3 separate regions of the Homo sapiens genome follow, and all the other regions are linked to region 2. The links are contacts of gene promoters, found by promoter capture Hi-C in blood cells and fetal thymus (Javierre and others, 2016). All regions are on one chromosome and are shown on one strand. The core of a region is centred on a gene start or on the middle of the fragment in contact, and the rest is flanking DNA. Distances in the headings are between cores, read along the strand shown. Region 1 holds the start of C11orf52 (chromosome 11 open reading frame 52). Region 2 holds the start of TIMM8B (translocase of inner mitochondrial membrane 8 homolog B). Region 3 has its middle 12 kb from the start of CFAP68.

The links. The method cuts DNA at HindIII sites, captures the fragments that hold promoters and counts their contacts. A CHiCAGO score of 5 or more calls a contact.
Region 1: a contact is called between a fragment that was not itself captured here and the fragment with the promoter of TIMM8B in region 2, in 1 of 17 cell types (neutrophils). The highest score is 5.2, in neutrophils.
Region 3: a contact is called between a fragment that was not itself captured here and the fragment with the promoter of TIMM8B in region 2, in 1 of 17 cell types (neutrophils). The highest score is 6.0, in neutrophils.

Annotation. Positions count from the first base shown.
Region 1 is chr11:111,917,761-111,921,998 of GRCh38, reverse strand. It overlaps C11orf52 (chromosome 11 open reading frame 52), which reads right to left and starts at 3,086. Exons shown (of 4, transcript NM_080659.3): 1 at 2,995-3,086. The coding sequence starts at 3,026. It overlaps HSPB2-C11orf52 (HSPB2-C11orf52 readthrough (NMD candidate)), which reads right to left. Exons shown (of 5, transcript NR_037651.1): 2 at 2,995-3,321. It also overlaps a transcript of CRYAB not described here. RefSeq lists an enhancer at 2,960-3,254. The HindIII fragment of the contact is 1,765 bases long and covers 1,542-3,306 here.
Region 2 is chr11:112,084,027-112,088,005 of GRCh38, reverse strand. TIMM8B (translocase of inner mitochondrial membrane 8 homolog B) reads left to right here and starts at 1,250. Exons shown (of 2, transcript NM_012459.4): 1 at 1,250-1,366; 2 at 2,544-3,206. The coding sequence starts at 1,283. The coding sequence ends at 2,711. It overlaps SDHD (succinate dehydrogenase complex subunit D), which reads right to left and starts at 1,133. Exons shown (of 4, transcript NM_003002.4): 1 at 1,047-1,133; 2 at 33-149. The coding sequence starts at 1,098. It overlaps NKAPD1 (NKAP domain containing 1), which reads right to left. Exons shown (of 6, transcript NM_018195.4): 6 at 2,856-3,979. RefSeq lists enhancers at 1-169, 863-1,132, 496-1,695. The HindIII fragment of the contact is 12,905 bases long and covers 1-3,885 here.
Region 3 is chr11:111,889,628-111,893,567 of GRCh38, reverse strand. It overlaps the pseudogene RPL37AP8. Among named protein-coding and RNA genes, the nearest start is that of CFAP68, 12 kb to the right of the region's middle. The HindIII fragment of the contact is 3,008 bases long and covers 592-3,599 here.

The sequences.
Region 1 (4,238 bases), core at 1,175-3,674, 170 kb after region 2:
TAGCTGGGCGTGGTGGCACGCACCTGTAATGCCAGCTACTAGGGAGACTGAGGCATGAGAATCGCTTACACCTGGGAGGCTAAGGTTGCAGCGAGCCAAGATTGTGCCACTGCACTCCATACTGGGAGATAAAGCAAAACTCTGTTTCAAAAAAAAAAAATGAGTATGATAATATAATTCAGACCTCATGGGATTATTGTAAGGATTAAATAAAACAGGAAATGTAAAATACTTAGCATGGTTCCTAGCATATAATAAGCATGAGTAAAAGTTGACCACTAATGACTATCACCATCAGAGAACTAATCAGTAATGAAAAAAGAATACCAACACTTGGGAAGAAAGAGAATAAAAGAAGCTGTTACATCTCCTTCTCTAGAAGCTTTTCTGTGCTTCTAGATGTCCTATGTCTATAGGGCACCTCAGAGTTTAAAGGGTGCTTTATTTTTTCAATCCTGACATTCCAGGAAACACATATTTTTGTTCCCATTTTACAGACGGGTTAATGAAGGGCCTTTTTTACTAACTTAATAAAGAGTAAAATTTTCCATGATGTTAGGTGTTCTTCCAACATTCTTTATGAAGTGGCTACGTATTTCCCATTAATTGGATATGCCATGTATTTAGACAGTTACCAAATGTTGGACCTTCAGGGTATTTCTTACTCAACAAGGCAGGGACCAAATGTCCTTTTATTACTATGTCTTCTGTGTCTATCACTGTGCCTGTAGTACATGTTCAATAAACACTGTTTAATAAATGAATGGATAAATGAATGAGTAGTAGGGCAGGACTTGAATCCAATGTACTACTCCAAAACCTGTGTGTTTTCCAATGCACTTCACTTGTCTATCTAAATATAATGATGCTTTATTTATAACATGACATCTTCCAGATCTGCCCCAGGCATGGAAGGCAGTAGACAGAATAAAACCAGGACCAGGAATTTACGGCATGGCAGTGATGAAAATTCTGGGAAAGAATAGTAACAACCCCACAGATAATTTATTATGAGGTTTTCACATACGCTATATCCTTTGCTCTTCAAAATAAGCCTGTGATCTACACAATGTAGGATGTATTATCTACATTTTACATGTGAGGATGGATACAGAGAAATTAAGGGACTTATTACCTATGGTCACATAGTAAATAAGTGTGAAAGTCATATTCAGATATTCCATGGATATTCTTCTTTTTCCTACTTCTGCCCTTTTATTTTTATTTTCATTTTTGAGACAGGGTCTCATTCTGTCACCCACACTGGAGTGCAGTGGTGTGATCATGGTTCACTGCAGCCTCTACCCCCAGGGCTCAGGTGATCCTCCTGCCTCAGCCTCCCAAGTACCTGGGATTACAAGCACGCACCACCACGCCTAGCTAATTTTTAATTTTTTTGTAGAGATGGGGCCACCCTATGTTGCCCAGGCTGGTCTCAAACTCCTTTTCTTTTTTTTTTTCAAGACATAGTCTCGCTCTGTTGCCCAGTCTGGACTGCAGTGGCGCAATCTCAGCTCACTGCAACCTCTGTCTCCCAAGCTTAAGGGATTCTCGTGCCTTAGCTTCTCAAGTAGCTCAGATTACAGGCGTGTGCCACCATGCCTGGCTAATTTTTTTGTATTTTTAGTAGAGATGGTGTTTTGCCATGTTGGCCAGGCTGGTCTTGAACTCCTGGCCTCAAGTCATCTGCCTGCCTCAGCCTCCCAAAGTGCTAGGATTACAGGTGTGAGTCACTGCATCCGACCACTTCTGCCCTTTAATTTATTTTATTTTATTTTATTCTATTTTATTTTATTTTATTTTTGAGACGGAGTCTTGCTCTGTCACCCAGGGTGGAGTGCAGTGGTGCAATCTCGGCTCACTGCAAGCTCCGTCTCCTGGGTTCAAGGGATTCTCCTGACTCAGCCTCCCGAGTAGCTGGGACTACAGGCACCCACCACCACGCCCGGCTAATTTTTTGTATTTTCAGTAGAGATGGGGTTTCACCGTGTTAGCCAGGATGGTCTCGATCTCCTGACCTCGTGATCCACCCGCCTCGGCCTCCCAAAGTTCTGGGATTACAGGCGTGAGCCACCACGCCTGGCACTTCTGCCCTTTTAAATAAACATTGCTTCAAAGTTGACTTGCTTGATCTAAGAGGCAATATTATGCAGTGGTTCAAAAGGTGGCCTCTGAAGTCAGGTGGGCCTCAGTTGGAATCTTGGTTTACTTGCTTACCAGCCATGTGACCTTAGGCAAGTTAGTTAATTTCTCTGAGCCTCAGTTTCTCAGCTGACTGTAAAATAGGAGGAGGGGCAAAACCATTTACCTCATAAAGTATTGGAAAAATTAAATGAGACTGTAAAATGTCTGGCACATAGAAAGCTCTCAAGTGCTACAATTATTACTCTCATCCAGGAAGAAAGGGAAAGAAGGGGAAAGGGAGGAAGAGGGCACAGAAAAACAATGCCGGTTCAATATTCCTGCCCTGCTCTGGCCATTCCGCAGACAGCTAGCTTGGCTCTGTTTTTTTTTGTTGTTGTTGTTGTTGAGACAGTCTCGCTCTGTTGCCAGGCTGGAGTGCAGTGGCGCGATCTCGGCTCACTGCAACCTCCGCCTTCCGGATTCAAGCGATTCTCCTGCCTCAGCCTCCCGAGTAGCTGGGACTACAGGTGCGCGCCACCATGCCCAGCTAATTTTTGTATTTTCAGTAGAGACGGGGTTTCACCATGTTGGCTAGGATGGTCTCGATCTACTGACCTCGTGATCCGCCGGCCTCGGCCTCCCAAAGTGCTGGGAGTAGAGGCGTGAGCCACCGCGCCCAGCCACTTGGCTCTGTCTTCTAAGGCCTCCTGAAAGGAGGTGCTGCTCTGGTGTTGGAACAAGGAGGTACCAGGCAGAGGAAGGTGGCAGTGGGAGGCTGGCAGACAACTATCTCCAGGTCCTCTGATTTTCGGGGCCTCTACATCCACCAACAGAGATAGATGTTCCCCTTTGCCCTTCCAGCCTACTCACCAGCTTCCTCCGCAGCAGACCCGGTTTCCCATGGCGCTCTGTCTCCAAGGGAGCCCAGCTGTTTTTATGCATCAAGAGGCTTGTGCATTTCCGGGTTCCTGGTTGAGCTTTCCGCGGCAGCTCCCGGAGTCTGTGTCAGTGTCAGATTTCAACCTAGCAGGTTGGACTTTTGAAGCCACCTGCTGGAATGATTCCCAGGTGACTGTGTTCCCAGCCAAAGGGTAGAACAACACACGGGCTCCAGGTGAGAGCTATCTCAACTTCAGGATTTGAAGCGTCTTTTGATGAAGCCATGAACTTGAGCTTCAAGCTTCAATAAAAAGAAACCTGAGATAGAAAAGGGCTCTTGGTTTCCTTACGAAATGCTTCTCCATTACATCACTCTGTCTTTGAAATATATCCTCTATAATAGATGAGTGCCTAATGTAGTAGTTTGCTCAGCACCACTCAGGTTTAACTGAGTTTCACTTTCGAGGCAATTGGTACCAGTTTCTTATTATTTTTGTACAGAATCTGGGTTGGGATACTGGAGTCTCTTGGAAACTTAAGTTTGGGGAAATGGGTTCCTCATATATTCTCCCTTGCTATTTGAAATCGATGTGGGCAAATCACTTAACCTTTATAGGGCCTAAGTTTCTAGGGCTGTGAAATGAAAAAAACTGAATCTAATCCCCTTTCTGGTATAAAATCAGATGATTCTATGATCAGGATGGCCTCAGCACTTCTTAACCACTCATTTCCTTATCCACAGTTCAGAACTACTGATTCTCCACTTACCCCTCAACTCTGCGTCTCCTTCCAGTAACCCAAAGTTAGACTCACCCGCACTCACCAGTAGAAAATATGGGCTCTACGAGAATCTGTGAAACCCATCATTCTTGTGTTCAGTTCTCTCACCCCATTTTTAGTGTTTTCCTCGGATGCCTGGTTATTGTCCTTTAAGTGGATGTTCAGGGCCCACCACTCAGCTCTGCACTCCACAGAGAATACCCTGGACTTTGAACTCCTCCTCTTATGAAACATGGGTAAGAGTGACAATCTTACAGGATTGTGGTGAAAAATAAAGCTCTAGTGCAGGGCCTGGCACATGGGACACACTCAGTAAGAGTTAGGCATTGTTGTTATTATTACAAAGCATCTTATTTTCTTTCTTTCTTTTATTTTTAAAGACAGGGTCTCAATCTGTCACCCAGGCTGGAGTTGAGTGGCTAGCTCACTGCAACCTCAAACTCCTACGCTCAAAA
Region 2 (3,979 bases), core at 1-2,500:
CCCAGAAAGCAGCAGCGATGGAGAGAACATACAATGGTGGCTCGGTGACAAGTGTATGTGCTGCACTCCACACCATTCTGGGATAGGTCGGTCCTGAAGAAATGCTGAGATATGAGCAGGTCTGACCACTGGAGTTCGAAGCAACAGAGCTGAGGAAAGAGTCATTAGGATGATCATAAGAACCTCTCCTTTAACAGGACTGACAAACTTTCTAAATGACCATAGGTAAGCTACTTAACAATAAATAGGGGATAACATCTTATTTGTAAAATGAAGATAGCATCTATTTCACTGGGGTTACTGTGAAGTTAAGACCAGGGAACATCTGCATGTTCCCTACTTTATTTAATGACACCTCAGGCATTCTTTAACCTAACTCAGTAATCTGGAAATCATGAGAGACTTTTCCCCTAAATTCAATCGCCAAATCCTATTGGCGTATCTCTTTAACAGTTCTTGAGACAATCTTCTTTTCTTTGTGCTACTTTCCTAGTTCAGGACCTCATCTTGCCCGGACTACTATGACAGTGTTTTCCTCATCAGAATGAAAGCTCGTTGAGGGCGGGAACTACGTTTTCTTCACATTTGTATCCTAGCATTACTACAGTACCTGAGGTAACACAAATGCCCAGGTTAAATGATTTTCGAACTGATCCCCCCTCCACTCCCACATCCAAACACACCAACTCCAGAAGAAATGGGCAAGCTCCTAACCCTCTTTCCCGACTCAGGGTGGGAGCGAGTGGGGAGCATTCTAGGGACAGTGAACGGGGAGAAAACAGAACTGCTATGTGGATTAGCCTCATCAGGACTGCGACTTCCAGAGGGAGCTCTCTTTCTGATTATTCCCTCAACTCGTCAGCTCACAGCAAGTGAAATATACCTTCGGGTAAACATCTGGACCCCTAGACTACAGTGGTCATTGCTGTGATTTCGGTATTTTCTTCTCCTCAAGAGATCTCCCACCCGGCAGATGAGTCCTCACTTCCATCCCCTTCCCTGGCTGGAGGCTACGCTAAGCACCTCAGGGTGGGAAGACCCCTCACCTCGGCCTCCTAGGGCACCGCAAACGGCACTCAGCCTCCAGAGAACCGCCATCTCGTTCCTGAGGGCTCAAGGTCATCCACCAACCCGGAACCACTTAGGCGACAATTCCCACCCACGACGACGAAAGAAAACAGGGAAGAGGAAATGCTGGGTGAACCGGAAGTCGAGAGGCGGTGCACACCCGTCGCGCATGCGCAAACACAGCTGTCGGAAGGTGGCGAGCCTGAGGCGAACAATGGCGGAGCTGGGCGAAGCCGATGAAGCGGAGTTGCAGCGCCTGGTGGCCGCCGAGCAGCAGAAGGCGCAGTTTACTGCACAGGTGCGGGGACGGGGAGGGTGAAGGGAAAGGAAGTTTCACCTTCCTTGGTGGTCCTGGGCACGCTCGGAGGTCTGTACACTGGCGGCTCACTGGTGCTCGATCCCGGCTGCATCCCATTCCCCTCACGAAAGACAAAGTTATGGCTCTCCTGTCCCTGGTGACCGGTAGTGCTCAGGTGCCAGGTATATAAGCGTAGCGTGGAGAAAAGAAAAGGTGTAAAACAGGGAAGATTTGGGCGACGCAAGGGTACGGGAGACTAGTTAGCCGGCGACATGACTGGGCTGGCATTCGAAAGATCTGGGTTCTCATCCTCCCTCTGCTCCTTGCAGGCCACGTGCCCGTAGAAAAGATACTCATCCACTGTGGGTTTTGGTGTCGCCGTCACCCCACTGCCTCACTGGATTGTGAGGATCATATGCGACAATGTATTTGAAAACGACTAGAACATTATCGGAGGAAGGTGGACTCTGAAGTAGTCGCTGTAGACTATGGATGTAGAACAAGGGTTTGGAGCCCTTCGGACATGGTTCTAACGCGGCCTGACTTCTTGCTGGCTACATGACCTTGGACTACATAATCACGCCTCTTAAATGGGAGGTGATGACAGCTATCCTTGAGGACCTTAGAGAGAACTGATTTCTTAGTACCCAGCCTCACAAATAGTAAGCTCTTGGTAAAATGGTTTTTTCCTTTTGGGTGGGAGGAAGAGGGTGCTCGGATGACCAGCAAGAACCCTGGCTAGAAATCTTTGGGCCCTGAACATTCTAATGACAGTGCACATAATTTCTGTGCCTGTATGTGCATTTTTCTGGGGAGTGGATCCATAACCCCCAAAAGGTTAATGGAAGAATTACCTTGTCTAGGGGATAGGTTTGGAATAAAATGAGTGCAATAGTTTGGGAAAATTAATTGGTTCCCTAGTTGGTTCACAATGGTGCTAGCTACTTTGGGGAATATAAAAGGTTATTAGTCCTACCTGAGAATGTACAATCTGTAGGGACGAGGATCTGGATCAATATTGGTGACTAATTAGGAAATGAAGAAAGAGAAGAGCCCAAAGTGACTCCGTGGTTGATTTAAAGAATGGTTTTGTCAGGTGTCAAAAAGTGAGAAGTTAATAAACAAGAGTTAGGCCTATCTGCAGACCCCAATGGTTACTATTTTTCTTTCCTTTTAGGTGCATCACTTCATGGAGTTATGTTGGGATAAATGTGTGGAGAAGCCAGGGAATCGCCTAGACTCTCGCACTGAAAATTGTCTCTCCAGCTGTGTAGACCGCTTCATTGACACCACTCTTGCCATCACCAGTCGGTTTGCCCAGATTGTACAGAAAGGAGGGCAGTAGGCCATCCCCCAGGAGAATGACAGAAGCAAAGGACTTGTTACTAAGCAGATTTAAGGGTCAGTGGGGGAAGGCTATCAACCCATTGTCAGATCAGCATCAGGCTGTTATCAAGTCTGTTGGTGCTAAAAAGTAAAAGATGAAATGTTCAAAGAGTGAAATTTATTTATTTGGAATTCAGAAATTCCAGGTTGTATGACATCAGTTACTCAATAAGTGTGAATTCTCCAACTCTTCTTTTAATCCCATTTTAGAATTTAATATAGAGATCTCTGATTGGCAGGAACACTAGAAATAAATGTTCCATGGCCAGTAGTGCAAATGGGGGATTGTAGGTTTTGAAAAACCACCCTAAGCCATATTAAGGGGGTTGGAAGAACCATCGAAGCCTAAGGCATAGAAGAAAATTTGGGGTTAAGAAAGATGAAGAACAAAAAACAGCTTTATTGCTTATACATGACCAAGAAAAGGAAAACATGGCAAAAAAAAAAAAAAAAAGGCAAGATGTGTATTCCTTGCGAAAGAACAAGCCTGCTAACTTGGGAGGAAGGGAAGGTCAGGACCCAAATAGAGCCAATTTCCTGGAGATGGCCTGTTCTACTGGCACATTTTCCTGAGTCTGTGCTTAAAACCTTTCAGGTACTTTCAGGGCACAGAAACAATGCATGCTAAAAAATATATGGCCAAAGCTCCTTCCAACAAAGATTTAACTTGCTCCAGGAACAAAATAATTGCTTTAGGTTAAGAGGTAGTAATTAGAGACTATTCTTCTCCCTTTAGACCCCCACTAATCCCAAAAATAAAAATACACACCATGGAACACTGACAATTGAGTACCAAAGTATTAAAATTTAAAATAAATATCCCAAAAGGTAGCACCTGCTCATAGTTAAGGGATAGGGCACCTCTGTCCAACCATGTATTTTAAGACCAAGCACTTTATTAGAAATCTGTCCCGTAAAGAGAACAAATTTAGCAGTTAGAACTAAAAATACCAACTCATGGAATGTCATCATAGTTGTATCTACTGCTGGTGTCTTATACTGTCATGCTACTGTGAAGTAATTCCGTATTACACATCAGGAAAGTAAGGCCAGGAAGGTGAACTTACCTGCTCTGGGCCTCCTCATAACCAATGAGTGGCAGAACCAAGACCGAAAGTCTGAGTTTTCAAGCTTTTTACTCAGCCCATTAAGTGACAACCAGGAAAAAATAATACGTCACTTGATCTTTCTTCCCACAGTGAAAAAATGCACTTGCGTTCTGCCAGC
Region 3 (3,940 bases), core at 846-3,345, 200 kb after region 2:
GGGCAGATCACAAGGTCAGGAGTTTGAGACCAGTCTGGCCAACATGGTGAAACCCTATCTCTACTAAAAATACAAAAATTAGCCAGGTGTGGTGGCAGGCGCCTGTAATCCCAGCTACTCGGGAGGCTGAGGCAGGAGAATCCCTTGAAACCGGAAGGCGGAGGTTGCAGCGAGCTGAGATTGCATCACTGCACTCCACACTGGGCAAGAAAAGTGAAACTCCATCTCGAAGAAAAAAAAAAAAGATTACTAAAAACAAGTAAGGTAATTATTTACCCAATTTTTGGTAAATCAGTGAGTGACAGCATTTGTAGCAGTGGTGAGTTAAATCAAGGAATAAATGTTTGCAAAGTGAAAATTATAAGGAGTGTCTCCTACCACCATGCAGTTCAAAGGCAAACAGTCACAAATCTGGAGGCTTCGCTGAATGCTTTCTATTATAGCATTGCTTATGTTGTGCGTCTGTATGATTATTGTAGACTTTATGAATTTTTATTTTATAAACTTTGTATTCATTCATTCATTCATTCATTTTCCAACTGACTTATTCCAGTTCAGGGTCATAGGTTGTTGGAGCCTATCCTGGAAGCTTAGGGCACAAAGAGGGAACTGACCCTGGATGGGATGCCATCCCATCATGGGGTGTACTCACATGCACACCCCCACTCATTCAGACTGTGGGACCATTTAGAAATGCCAGTTCACCTAATGTGCGCATCTTTGGGATGTAGGAGGAACCTGGAGTACCCAAAGAAAACCTACGCAGACTTGGGAAGAACATGCAAACTCCACACAGACACTGTCCCAGCAGGGAAGTAATTTGTTTTTCTCATCAACCTAATAATGATACAATGCTAAATAAAACAACATTATTTGAAGACCTGCTGTACATTGAAAAAAAAGAAAAATTGCAAATCAAAAAACTGATTTTACATCATAAGGAACTAGAAAAAGAAAAGCAAATCCAAACCAAAGCTAGAAGAAGAAAGAAAATAATAAAGGTTAGAGCAGAGATAAATAAAAGACAGAACAGAAAAATAAAGGAAGTCAATGAAACCAAAAGTTATTCCTTTGAAAAAATCAACAAAATTGACAACCCTTACCTAGATTGACTAAGAAAAAAAGAGAGAAAAATCAAATTACTAAAATCAGAAAAAAGTGGGGACATTTTTGCAGATGCAAACAGAAATAAAAAAGATTATATGAGAATACTATGAACAATTATCTGCTAGCAAATTGGAAACATAGGTCAAACAGATAAATTCCTACAAACACATATTTTACCAAAACTGACTCATGAAGAAATAGAAACTCTGAGTAGGTCCATAATTTGGAGTAAGGAAATTGAATTAGTAATCAAAATACCCCAACAATGAAAAGCCCTGGACCAGATGGCTTCACTGATGAGTTCTACCAAATATTTATATAAGAATTAACATCAGTCCTCCTCAAACTTTTTAAAAGAAAAACAAAGAGGAGGAATACTTCCTAACTTATTCTGGGAGACCAGCATTACCCTGATACCGAAGCTAGACAAAGACATTACAAGAAAAGAAAACTACAGACCAATACACCACATAAATCTTCAACAAAATACTAGCAAACCAAATTCGCAGGATATTAAAAGGATTATAAATATATTCCTGAAATGCAAGTTTGAGTCAACATATTAAAATCAATCAATACAATACACCGCATTTACAAAATAGAGGGAAAAAATCCCACAGGATCATCTCAGTTAATGCAGAAAAAGCATTTGACAGAATTCAAAACCCTTATACAATAAAAACATTCAACAAACTAGGAGTAGAAGGAAACTACCTCAACATAATAAAGACCATATATGAAAAACCCACAGCAAACACCAAACTCAATGATAAAAATTAAAAGTTTCGGCCAGGTGTGGGGGCTCACACCTGTAATCTCAGCACTTTGGGAGGCCGAGGCTGGAGGATCACTTGGGCCCAGGAGTTCGAGACCAGCCTGGGCAGTATGGCGAAACCTCATCTCTACAAAAACTACAAAAATTAGCATGGCCTGGTGGCATGCACCTGTAGTCCTAGCTACTCGGGAGGCTGAGGTGAGAGTATAGCTTGAGTCTGGGAAGCAGAGGTTGCAGTGAGCCAAGATCGTGCCACTACACTCTAGCACTTGACCCTCTCTCAACAAATAAAAAACAAAACAAAAAACAAAAATTCCACCAAAACTAAAAGTTTTAGCCTATTGCCAGTCCTTGGAAAAAAAATAAAAGGTCTTCCTTTAAGATCAGGATCAAGACAAGGATACCCACTTTTGCCACTTCTACTCAGTATATTATTAGATGTTCTGCTCAGAGCAATTAGGTAAGAAAAAGAAATAAAAGTATCCACATTGGAAAGGAAGAAGTAAAATTATCTGTTTGCAGATGACATGATCTTACATGTGGAAAACCCTAAAGATTACACACACACACACACACACACACACACACACACACACCATTAGAACTAATATACAAATTCAGCAAAGTGGCAGGACACAAAACCAACAAACAAAAATCAATTCCATTTCTATACATTAACAATTAGTAACCTGAAATAAAGATTAAGACAACAATACTATTTACAATAACATCAAAAAGACTAAAATACTTAGGAATAAACCAAGAAGGTAAGACTTATACACTGAAAACTATAATGTATTGCTGAAAGAAATTAAGAAGACATAAATAAATGGAAAGACATCTGTGCTCATGAATTGGAAGACTTAATATTAAGATATCAATATTAGCCATACTGATTACAGATTCAATGCAATCCCTATCAAAATTCCAATGACTTTGCAGAAAAAAAAAATCTATCCTAAAATTCATATGGAATCTCAAGGGACCCTGAAGAGCTGAAACAATCTTGAAAAAGAACAAAGTGGGAAGACTTAGACTTTCTGATTTCAAAACTTATTACAAAACTACAGTAATCAAAATGGTGTGATATTGGCAAAAAGGCAGAATGTAGATCAATGTAATAGAATATAGAGTCCAGAAATAAACCTTAGTGCATATGGGCAAATGATTTCCAACAAGGGTGACATGACCATTTAATGGGGAAAGGACAATCTTTTCAACAAATGGTGCTGGGAAAACTGAATATTCACTTGCAAAAGAATGAAGTTGGACCCATGCCTTATATATACCTTATACTATAGATACAAATTAATTCCAAAAGTATCAAAGACCTATTTTATTTATTTTTAATTAATTTATTATTATTATTATTTTTTGAGACAGGGTTTTGCTCTTGTTGCCAAGGCTGGAGTGCATGGTGTGATCTCAGCTCACTGCAACCTCCACCTCCGAGGTTCAAGCAATTCTCCTGCTTCAGCCTCCCAAGTAGCTGGGATTACAGGCATGCACCACCACACCCGGCTAATTTTGAATTTTTAGTAGAGATGGGTTTCACCGTGTTGGCCAGGCTGGTCTTGAAATCCTGACCTCAGGTGATCCACCTGCCTCGACCTCCCAAAGTGCTGGGATTACAGGCATGAGTCACTGCGCCCAGCCAAAGACCTCTTTTGTCAGAACTAAAACTATAAAACTCTTAGAAGAAAATAGGGGGAAAGCTTTTTAACACTGTATTTAGCAATGGTTTCTTGGATATAACACCAGAAGCACAGGCACCACCAACAAAAAATAGATAAATTGGACTTATCAACATTAAAAACTTTTGTGCATCAAGGGACAGTATCTAGAGAGTGAAACAACATCTTCCTCTCTGGGCTTGGACCTAGTTTGTGGTGACATGGCCAAATGCACCAAGAAAGTTGGAATGAGGCTGGACACGGTGGCTCACGTCTGTAATCCCAGCACTTTGGGAGGCCAAGGTGGCTGGATCACTTGAGATCAGGAGCTCGAGACCAGCCTGGCCAACATGGCGAAACCCCATCTCTAATCAAAATACAAAAA